Linked DNA regions of Homo sapiens: region 2 is linked to region 1. Evidence: promoter capture Hi-C in 16 types of primary human blood cells and fetal thymus (Javierre and others, 2016). All regions are on one chromosome and are shown on one strand. The core of a region is centred on a gene start or on the middle of the fragment in contact, and the rest is flanking DNA. Distances in the headings are between cores, read along the strand shown.

Region 1 (5,798 bases), core at 1,943-4,442:
TGGACAAACCTACTAGCTCTTAGTAGCAATCAAAAAATCAATTAAATATTAAAACACAATGTGCCAGTTAAACACATACAAGTATTCATATGTGGGATACCAAGAGGAAGAGACAGTCTTTGCTTGTTCTACAGGGGAAATATAATCTCTAACATTTATATAGTAGCATTCTACTTCAAGTACATTTACAAGGTTCTTACTGACTTTGAAAGTTTTTTTTAACCACAGGTCAACAGAAGAGATGGAATTAAGGGGACTGTTCCTTAGATCTGTTCCCTGCATCACTTTGTGCAATTTATATATGTTCCCCAGCAGTCTTCCGAACCAGTAAGTCAGGCCTGCCCAGGAGCCTTCAGGAAGAGATCATCCCACGAGGACAAAACCTCATTCCTTAGACTTAGAGCAAAAACTGTGATTACAACAGGTCTTTGACTCAAACTTATACCCCAGTCCAAATCCCAAATGGAGTCATCACATCTGACTCCTATGGAGAAGAAGGGTCTTGTGATTGAAAACAGAAGGGTTATTTTGCTAAGGGCTCTGAAAGACCTTGTGGCCCAAGCAACCCTAGAGAAGTCCCACCTGTGTTAAGTGTCACTATAAAGCAGAGAGAAGCTTTAGAAGACAGTGAAAGTTCAACCTACTGAGGACTCCAGGGAACTCGGTGGGGTTTTGGCCCTCAAGGACTGCAGTGCATCAGCAGTAGTGGGGCCAGCAGGGAGCACAGCACTCAGCAGAAGAGGCAGCAGTGTTGGGCAGGCATGGCAGGAACCAGGGGAAGAGACAGGGTTCAATAGCAGAGGACTGATAGGTAAGCCCCCACCTCTGCCTACTGGACTTGATCCTGAGTACAAGTTGCATCATGCCAGGCCCTCCCTTAAATATTGGTGCTTCTATAGTGGGTTGGGATTCCGTATGCACAGGTGGGAACAAGATCTCACTGAGCACAGCTGTTACTGCCTCATTTCTTCCCCACTGCAGCCCTGTGAAGCAAATATTTTCCCCATGAAAAGACTGAGTCTTAAACGTGTGTATCTGTAATAATTGCCAGTTTATTCCTCTGGCTAAGAGATCCAGAGGTAATTTGAGGTTTACATTTCTTTTTAAAGTTCTTTCATCAAGAGTTTAGGTGCCCCCATTGCCCTCATAAGCTGGTTGCAAATTATTTGACTCTTACTTGTAAAAAAAATCCTTAATTCTTTTTGTGTGTGAGACACGTGTTCATTAAAAAGTACATATAAGCAAAAAGAACAAAAAGAAGAAAACAAATAAAATTTCACACCACACAGAAATAAGCTTGGTTAAGTTTGTGATATATGTTATATGGATGTATGTATACACACACGCACACACACAAAGTTTGGAATTTTATCCTACATATGTGAGCTGATATTAAATATGCTGCTTTGCCATAACCTGTTATGTTTTACTTTACAACATGGAATGAACATATTCCCATGCAAATGTGTGAAAGTTTCCAATTGAAAAATAGACCTGGAAAATGGGTCAAAATCCAAAATCCAATGAGATGCTGGTACCAAGGAAATTACCTAAAACAAAATTTCATCAGATGATTAAAAGTAAAATGGAGGTCAAAGATACATCAGAAAATGCTAACAGAAAGAAAGCTGGGGCCAGATTTTAATATTAGGCAAAAATGAATTCAAGGCCTAAAGCACACAGGATAAGGACGGCTGCGTGAATGTCTTTGCTTCCAATGCATCATCACAAACTTGTTTCTTACTCTTCTTATCTCTTCCCTAAGCCTTTCAAGCTCATCTACTCCTCTTATCATTTCTTCAGGGTCCAAATGCCTAACGGGTGTGTCCTCTTTAAATCCCTGGCCAGGCTGATTCGGCCCTCCTCTGGGGTTTCCTTCTGCTTCCTGGCTTACGCCTTCTTCGGAAGGTTGAGGATTTCCTTCTGCCTCCTGTGGTACATCCTCCAAAGGGCGATCTTCCTCGGCCTTTGGCATGTTCTGTGGTTTTCCCTCATTTTCTTCACAAGACTTTTGCATATTGAGTATTTTTTATTTCCTTTTTGAATAAATTAATCCTAGAAAACAAGGAAACAAAACTACTAGATTCCAGGCAAACAGACCAGCAGTCAGAGTATGGGGTCCCATAGCGACTGGCCTTTTTTGACTCAGTACCCTAATTGTCAAAAGTTTTCCAACTAGAGAAAGCTGGATCCTCAGGCTCAGAACTCCCCTGACTCCACCTCCCTTCGCGCCCCCTTTCGTTCCAGCTCCATCTTTCTCCTCCTGCTCCTGCCCACCATCTTCCCAGCAGGCCCTGCTACAAGCCTCTCCTAATACTGAAATGGGAGCAGTACGGAAGCAATTAACCCTTCTCCCGCCTCTGGTCTCCAACACTCCCGCCCTTCAGACTTTCCCAGGCCCTCTCAACCTCCAGCCTCTCACCTGAGACGGCTGGTCCAGTCTCTGGCCTCCCCTCCCCCTTCAGCGTCTCTTAAGCCTCCTCCTCCCCCGCCTCATTTCCGCTGCAGGCTCGGCACCGGCCTCTGGCACTTAATCCGGATGGGGAGGGGCTGCTGCGACCCCAGGATGTGCTTTGGTGTCACTCACACTTCCACCCCCACCCGAAGAGACCTGAAGCAATTGCACCTTTACAAAAACTGACCTGCAGGGATTCAGGGGATTTTCCTCTCTCTTCCCTCACCTCGATTTGTGTCGCGCCCAAAAAACCAAATATCCTGCAGACAGATGGGAGTGTTTGGTGAGCAGACTAGTACCTGGATCACGGGTCCCTTTCATGATTCTAGGCCATGTTGGTGTAAAGTTTCCCATGTCCTCATCCTCGCCCTCCTTTTATGGCAACCCCGCCCTCCTCCGTGCCCACCGTTTTTCTGCAAGCAGGGAGTAGGAAAAGCAAGTTTCTTCCAAACAGTTTCTATGTCTCTCTCTCAGGACCCTTAATTAGCTACCCTTCTCTCTCTCCACCCGCCATCCCCCACCAAACAGCCCCAAATTTCCTGCACAAAATGGGAGTTTGGCGGAACAGAAGTGGGGAAAGCAGTGCCGGCCCCGCTTGCTTTCTGCTCTCGGCCTCCTCGACCCCAGGGTCTCCAAGTCAGCGCCCACGTTTATACTAACCTGAAAGGATCTTGGGCACTTTTCTCCTTCTCCAGCAATAAGGAGCTGCTACAGGGAAACAGGCCCTGGACTATAAGGACTTCTGCACACGTCGACTCCTGGTCACGTGAGAGTCGCGTCATCACTGAGCTCGAGTCCCCAGTTACCCCTCCCATTAACACTGCAGCCCGCCCGCTGCGTTCCCTCCACTTGATACTGTCAATCTTTTTTCGTATTTGCCAATCGGAGACAATAAACTGTTATCTTCGCCCTGGAGTATTTATTCGCCTTTCTCAGATTACCAGGAGGATCAGCCTTTTAGGGGTAATCGACCATTTCTCCTTCTTTGAGGAATCATCTCTTTCTTCTGCTCCCAATACTCCCACCTCCCCTCCTCCAAGACCCCTACAGTCCACCATTTCCCCTGGAATCCTATCCAGCATTGAAATGGGCAAAGGTGGTAGATCGGGAAGAGGGGGCTGGAAAAGAATCTAAGGTTGAAAGTGGAGGATTTGACTAATCCTCTTGAATAGTTTTCTGTTGTGTTCTATGTTTTCAGCAATCAGCATACTTTTAAAAATGGTATCAGAAAACGGATGCCTCATAAGCAATATGTAACACTTAATATGAAGGACAAATTAGTTATATCAATGTGTAAGACTTTGGAAAAGTTTTCTAATGGCTGGAAATGAAATGACAATATTCACAACATATTGATGTGTTAGAATTTTTTAAAATCTTACCAAACAGCACTTAAAAAATTGACTCCCAAATTAATGTGTGGAAGGAGGCCTAGTTTTCTCTTGTTAGCAATTTTGTATAGGTAATCTACTACTCTTTCTATTTCTGGCAGAACTCAAGTTATCAAGTGTTGGATGTCTGATCTTTTTCATTGATGACCACTGGTGGCATCCACTAAGGTTTCACTTGGAGGCTTCAGACAGACTTCCTCCCCATTTCCTCTATAGGATTCAGTATCTTGTTAATCAGATAAGTCCACAGAAAAGCCTGCTTTCCACTGAGTAAAATTCTTTTGGAACTCAAAGTAGTATGTTTCTTGGAAAACATTTCGTTGTTGGGAAATAACTCATACACTCATGAAACACTCAGAAAAGAGAATTCTCTGTATCTCACCATCAGGCTTGAGGCTTCTTTGCATGGCATTTTCATTCATGGCACTCTTGAGATAGTCTGGTATCATCCACTGTGTCCCATTAAAAGAACTATTGACATGCATAATTGTTATGATTAGAAAGCAAAGAGAACAACATTGCTGTAAAAAATAATATTAAACAGGAAACTGATATCCCTGCAACTCAGAATCCACTGGTACTTGGAAGGATGGTGGTGCCTGGAGTGGCATTCTGGCCAATGGAGCCAGCTGGAGAGTCAGAAGAAGACAGAGGGGGTCTTTTGTCTAGGGTGGTCACAGCAGGATGCCTTAGCCAACAAGAACACCCACCAGAGAAGAGAAAAGAAGGTTTGGAAAAAATAAATATTTTTTGGACTTAATGATTTATAGTTGAAGCATGACAAATTTCTTCCACACTTGAGGGATAAATGTTCTATTGTTTGAGAGAGAGCTTTTAATATAAATATAACTAGCAAATTATAAAGATTTAATCATTGCCTATCACCAAATGTTTCCACTCTTTTAAATGTAACCATTTAGTGAGGAACAACTCTGATCTTTTAAAAGAAAAATCATCAGCAGCAAAATGGACTTTGTGTGTGTGTACACTTCTATGAAGTTTAACCAATGTATAGATTTGTTTAACCACCACTGCAATCAGAATACAGTTCAATCACCCCCAGAAACTCCTGCATGCTGTCTCTTGTAGTCCTATTTGACTGCCTTCCCTAAACTCTGGCAACCACTAATATATTCCCCATTACTACACTTTTGTCTTATTCAGAATATTATGTAAATGATTTCATTTTTCAATTTTTGTGCACTGGCTTCTTTTGGGACTGGCTTCTTTCACTCAGCATAATGCCCTGGACATCCATTTGAGTTGTTGCATGTATCAATAGTTTATTCTCTTTTTTGCTGAGTAGTATTCTGTTATTTAGCTATTCCACAGTTTGCTTATTCATTCACCTGCTGAAGGACATTTGAGTTATTCCCAGCTCTAAGCAATTATGAAAAGAACTGCTGTAAACATTCATGAACAGATTTAGGCCATTGCTTCACTTCTGGACTTCCTGCCTCCAGCGCCTCCCTCTCTCCCTTTAATCCACCTTACACATTACCTTGTCCCTGCTTTCAACAGTCATTCTCCTGCTCAGTGACCCTGGATGGTAACCGCACCACTCACCAAGTAAATCCTATACTCCTTATCTTGACATTCAGCCTCCATCAGAATTGAACCTCAGGACATGTTTCTAGCCTCATCATCTCCTTCTCTGCCCCATCCAAAATAAACCCTTACTTCATTGTCTACAGAAGCAGTGAGATCAAATTAAAAATTAAAAACTAATAATAATAAACAACCCTTAGTCACTGTGCCCAAGCATGCCTTATACTTCTCTCTTTGTCCTTGTTCGTCATTATCTTGTTCCTGATTGCCCTCCTCTTCCTCCTAGATCCTGGTGCTGCTCATTCTTAGAGGTCAAGACCTAATCACCCAGCCTCTGAAGCTGGAAGTGATCTCTCCCTCCTCTGTCATTGCTGCACATGAAATCTGCACCCTTCGTGTAACCC
Region 2 (5,589 bases), core at 940-3,439, 440 kb after region 1:
TAGTAGTTAAAGTGCTGCATCTAAATTGTTGAAGCTTGTTACGTGGGAGTTCATTAGACTGTTTTTCCTACTTTTGTGTATTTTTGAAGTTTTCCATAATAAAACATTTAAAAAGACAAAAAATGTTTTAAAGTGCTTCATCAGTCCTGAGGAAGAGAACGCACATGGGTTTCTCTTTAGAAGAGTACTTATTAACCAAGGGGTTAGGTAGAATGTACACCCTTTAGTAGAGACATACCCTGTAAAAATCTGGGGAGGGGGGCGTTTTAGATTGAAAAAGCCTCTTTGCCAAAAATTCTGGTTAGGTCTTCTAGAAGGGAAATATCCTTCTGCCTGCAATCCCCCTCCACCAAACCCCACAAGTAAGTCTTGCTGTAATGAACCACTATTGGTGAAAGAAGTATATCATATCCCTTGGGCGATTGAGAGTGGAGGGAGCTTGAAAACCATGGAAACAGACCTCAGCTAATTGGCAAAAACTGTTAGCCAGCAGGAAGAGAAGCACAGGCAAAGGGAGTATTGGGGCAGGAGATGGAACTTGGAGTGTAATGGGGCTTCATTCTCACCCCAGGTGAGTGCTGGAGAGGACAAAGCTGCTAATGACAGAGGACACCAGGGAGCAGAATATGTGGCAAAGAGGTCCTTACTGAGGACCTCAGGGTATTCTTGGAAGGCTCTGGGCCCCATCTGACTTGCAGGTTTTTGTTTTGTTTCTTTGTTTTTCGTTTTTGAGACAGAGTTTCACTCTTATCGCCCAGGCTAGAGTGCAGTGGCGGATCTCAGCTCACTGCAACCTCCACCTCCTGGGTTCAAGCGATTCTCCTTCCTCAGCCTCCCAAGTAGCTGGGATTACAGGCGCCGGCCACCACGCCCAGCTAACTTTTTGTATTTTTAGTAGAGACGGGGTTTCGCCATGTTGGGCAGGCTGGTCTTGAACTCCTGACTTAGGTGATCTGCCCGCCTTGGCCTCTCAAAGTGCTGGGATTACAGGCGTGAGCTATCATGCCCAGCTGACCTGCAGTTTTTAAAACAGTGGGGTGGATCCCTGTCTCTCACCATACACAAAAATCAACAACAACAACAATAAAACAATGGGAAAGCTGCCTGAAGGCAAAGATCACACACACACACACACACACACACACACACACACACACACACACACTCTTTCAAGGACTTGGAACCTGACTGTTCCAGGTCCAACCTGAACCTGCTTGGAAAGGCGGGTTCCATAGAGTACCCATTGAAAACTATGTGGTTTTGTTCGTTCTTTGTTGTGTTTTCACTGTGTAACTAAGCAAATGACGGGGTTTGTACACTGCTGGGAGTGAGCAGATATGGTTGGAGAGGTGGGGCACTGTTTAGGGCATGGGGAAATCAGAGCACATGTTCTCTCAAGGTCCTGAGGTTGAGATAAAATGGTTTGAAACTGGGGACAGAGAAGGGAGCAAGGGCAGTTCCTAAAAGGTACAAAGCCGAGATTCACCCCGCTGCTTCCAGGCCAGAGTTCTGGGTAGGACGTCAATGAGACCCAGGCCGGTACAGCCAGCTTTCAATAGAGCTGGTCTGTGAAACTTGGCCGAGAGGACAGAGGAAGATTGATGTTTGCTCCAGAGTGGGGCTGTCAGCTGTGCTCACCACCTCACCATGCTCCCAGCTGTAAACAAAAGTCCTGGCCCTTCATGGCACTGCAGAGCAGTCCAGGCTGGCGTAAGTCTCTGAGGACAGCTAGACCATTTTCTCATCCTGGCTGAGAACCAGAAGACAGAAGAAACAATAGAAGGTGGTGGGTAGGGGTGGGCAGGATTGCAAGGGGGTGAGAATCAGTGACCAGAGGGAAGGAGCTGTCAATTTCAGATCTTAGGTTTGTGCATCCAAGTACTTAGTACAAATCTTATAGGGAAAGCAGACCCCTTTCCTTGTCAGCTTCACAGATAATAGTGAACTACCAAAGGAGGCTTGCAGGGACTCTAGTGCCTCATTCATTCATTCATTCTTTCAGTGAATACCTCATGTGCCTGTCACTGGGCTAGATACTCTGGGTGATGCCAAAGTAATACAAGACAGCTCGTAAATTCAAGGAACTTACAAGAAGTTTGTAAACGTGTAACCTTAAGTCACAATACCAATAGTAAGACTTTAAATCCTAAGTGACAGACATAGAATAAGAGTTTAGAAACGAGAGTAGTCATATCTGGTCATCATCAGAGAAAATGGAGTTTGAGAGGGCTATAGAAAGATAGACACAATTTGGCCAAGGGAAAAAAGATACCAGGCATTCCAGGCTAGGACCAAATTGTTAGTAACAATGAGGCCTGCCTTCGCGAAGGCAGAAAGTTAGTATGACACAGACTCTCTTCAGTCTTCACCCCGTCATGTTCCTCACCACAGCTAACCCAGTCTTCAAAACTCACTTAAATGTCACTTCCTCAGGGAGGCCTTCCCTGATCTCCAGGGCCAGATTAAGTACTCTTGCTTTATGTTCCCATAGCACCCATTACTTTCCCCTTTCTAAGACACCACTATTTTCACCTGATGACCTACTCATGTCTCCCTACAATTTGTTCTCCACTCTGCAGCCGGAGTTTTTTTGCAAATGCAAATCTGTTACATCACTTCCCTCTTGGAAACTCTCCTACCTCTAACATCTTCCTTCTCCTTTGCCTTCCTGGTCCTTCTTGCCTCTTTCCATCTTACTTTTCCTTCTGGTCACTTCTTAAATGTCTCTATCTAAGTTTGTCTCCCCTGCCAGAATGTCAGCCCTCTGAGGGCAGGAGTTATGTTTCTTCCTCACCATGTATCTGTGTATTTAGCACAGTGCCTGGCATATTGTGTTAGGCACTCCACAAAAATTTGTGAATAAATCCAAGGGAGATAAGGCAATATTAGTAGCCAACTGAAGGATTAATCTTACACTTCTGTGCAAAGGGAAATCTTTAAAAGTTTTTAAATAGGGGTATAAAAAAAATCATGAGAGAACCCTGCCTTCTGACAAAACAAACAGAACAAAGCAAAAAATGATCAAACAAAACCCAGAGAACTCCAACCTCAGCTTACCCTAAACCCGGCCTCCCAATGATCTTGTAGACTCATGTTCTCTTCCTTTCTGTTTCCCCCACCACTGCCTCCTCCAAAAACACAAGAAAACTTACTCATTGATCCTTCCAACCAGAGAAATTTGGCAGTATGGCCAAATACACTTACTTCCACATTTGTAGTTGTTCGTTGGGCTAGCATTTATTGCCCACCTCCATTGTTCCAAGTGCTGTGCTCATAGCTACAGATGGAGACTTTTTTCTTACCTCGATGGTGCTCACAACTGAGTGAACCCCTTACACTTACCACTCACTTCGTGACTTCAAATTTCTAGTGAAGGGCTTTGCTTTACCTGGGCTCAGTGATGGAGACTTTTCAGGGTACTGGAGCCTGCAAAAGACCTCAATTTCAGGACCATCTGTAAAACTGGGGACTCAGTGAGACTCAGAGGATGGATAAGTATATCCGTTTACACTAGACTGTTACCTTTCTGTGAGGAGGCTAAATGGCAGGGTGGTGAATATCCGGAAGGGTGGTTAGGCATCAGCCATTTCTTAACCTTATTAGGTTGGGCTTACTAAGGCAAACAGGCCACCAAGGTGCACCTCTTGAGTGAAGCAGCATGGAAAAACTCAAGGAATGACAGGAGAAAGAATTGGATTTCTCATTAAAAATAGAGGCACTGCCTTGCACTTTGAGGGGGGCTGAAATAAGAATGCAACTCCAAGAAACCTTCCAAAGATAATCAGAGGACACCCACTCACCCTGAGGTAGCCCTTAATGCCAGGGTATGGTTTTTTCATCTCAGATTCAGTTCCCAGCTAATTAGGGGGTAGCAAATTAAGACATCAGAGAGCCAGTGCACGTTCACCCCTTCACACCCCCCACCCCCAAAGAAGGGTGAAGGAAAGAAATAGATACTATTTTGTAGCTGAAGTCCTAACTGGATATCTCTTGGCTGAAGAATAACATCATACATGGTATCAGTGACACTTTAAAGATATAGTCATTAGTTTTGACCCTCTCTTTCCCCCTTGAATCCTTTACCCTAAACATGAATCCACCACCAGGATGTTAGGGAGAGAGACTATATGTAGCAGATGGAGACAAATGAGATTAACTTCCATGATTCATTACTTTTGCCTGTTAGGTAGCCTTGGGTGAAGACAGTTCATACACCTGGAATTTGACATCCTAATGAGATGGGACAGGAAGGGTTAACTCCAAAATCAGTGAAGTATATTTCATAGGAGAATAACAACACATTCACGAGAAACCATATTGTCTCCTTCCTTAATAGACCAACCTGAAGCTTAGGCCAATCAAATGATGATAACAGGTTGTGTTTCTGCTACGCAAAGACTAAAAGAAGTGTAAGTCTAAGGGATTAACAAATTCACAAAGAAACCCTGGTGAAAGAAATCCTGAATTTCTGCTATTTGGAGCTTGGCATGACCATTGCACACCTGTAATATCATTGTAACTGTTGCCAAGATTTTTGCTATATCCCGTTTCTGTGGGGACTGTGAATATCTAATATGAGTGTCGTCAACAGATGAACAGGGCAGAGGTTGGGAACTGAATGTTCATCACAGAAACAGTTTTTTCCCTTGCAGATTACCTTTGGCCTTGAATCTGTTGCTGTCTACAAGTCAGAGCCATCCCAGAAGTGAGCCTCTGGAGCTAATAAATGATGACACACTCTAGTCTTTCCCTTCCTGTTCTATTCTTTCCTTTCACAGCTTCAACTAAGTTGAGAAAAAAGGGGGACTACACTGAGGGCCTGAGCTTTGCCCAATCAAGCCCTCAGTATCCCCATGTTGTCTGATGAGCAGACTAGACTAAATGATCTGGGAAGGCCCTTCTAGCTCTGCTGTGCCAGGTTCTAAAATTCTTTTTTTTTTTTTTTTTTTTTTGAGACGGAGTCTCGCTCTGTCACCCAGGCTGGAGTGCAGTGGCGTGATCTTGGCTCACTGCAAGCTCCGCCTCCCAGGTTCATGTCATTCTCCTGCCTCAGCCTCCCAAGTACCTGGGACTACAGGCGCCCGCCACCACGCCCAGCTAATTTTTTGTATTTTTAGTGGAGAAGGGGTTTCACCGTGTTAGCCAGGATGGTCTCGATCTCCTGACCTCGTGATCCACCTGCCTCGGCCTTCCAAAGTGCTGGGATTACAGGCGTGAGCCACTGTGCTCAGCCGCCAGTTTCTAAAATTCTAAGACATTGTTATCTGTTGAGCCAGTTGTCTTATGGGAAATCCCATGAGACATTTGTTTTCTAAAAGAGCCAACTGTTTATTTCTCTGCATGGGCATATTGGTGAGAGTTAAATGCAGTCAGGATAGCAAATGTGTTGCTGTGGCCAATTGTCTTAAGCATTCTTGCCCTTCTGATGGTCAGGGCTGTCTTTGTAACAATGATTCTCATTGTCTGAAGTAGTTAAGGATTAGCATTAAACTGAGGACTGATAAGACTGAGGTCATTAGCCAGGCATTGTTAGTAAGTAAAAGGGGAGGTAGGGTGACAAGTATTCAGGACTTCTGTAGGTTGATAACT

The links. Contacts are between HindIII fragments. The CHiCAGO score rates a contact against its expected background, and 5 or more counts as called.
Region 2: a contact is called between a fragment that was not itself captured here and the fragment with the promoter of TCEAL8 in region 1, in 1 of 17 cell types (non-activated CD4 T cells). The highest score is 6.2, in non-activated CD4 T cells.

What each region holds. Positions count from the first base shown.
Region 1 is chrX:103,251,963-103,257,760 of GRCh38, forward strand. It overlaps TCEAL8 (transcription elongation factor A like 8), which reads right to left and starts at 3,193. Exons shown (of 3, transcript NM_153333.3): 1 at 3,116-3,193; 2 at 2,643-2,715; 3 at 1,033-2,055. The coding sequence starts at 2,017. The coding sequence ends at 1,664. RefSeq lists an enhancer at 3,130-3,179. The HindIII fragment of the contact is 6,472 bases long and covers 1,295-5,798 here.
Region 2 is chrX:103,692,438-103,698,026 of GRCh38, forward strand. MORF4L2-AS1 (MORF4L2 antisense RNA 1) reads left to right here. Exons shown (of 3, transcript NR_038978.1): 3 at 1-123. Among named protein-coding and RNA genes, the nearest start is that of MORF4L2-AS1, 7.9 kb to the left of the region's middle. RefSeq lists enhancers at 4,601-5,351, 5,352-5,589. The HindIII fragment of the contact is 4,314 bases long and covers 33-4,346 here.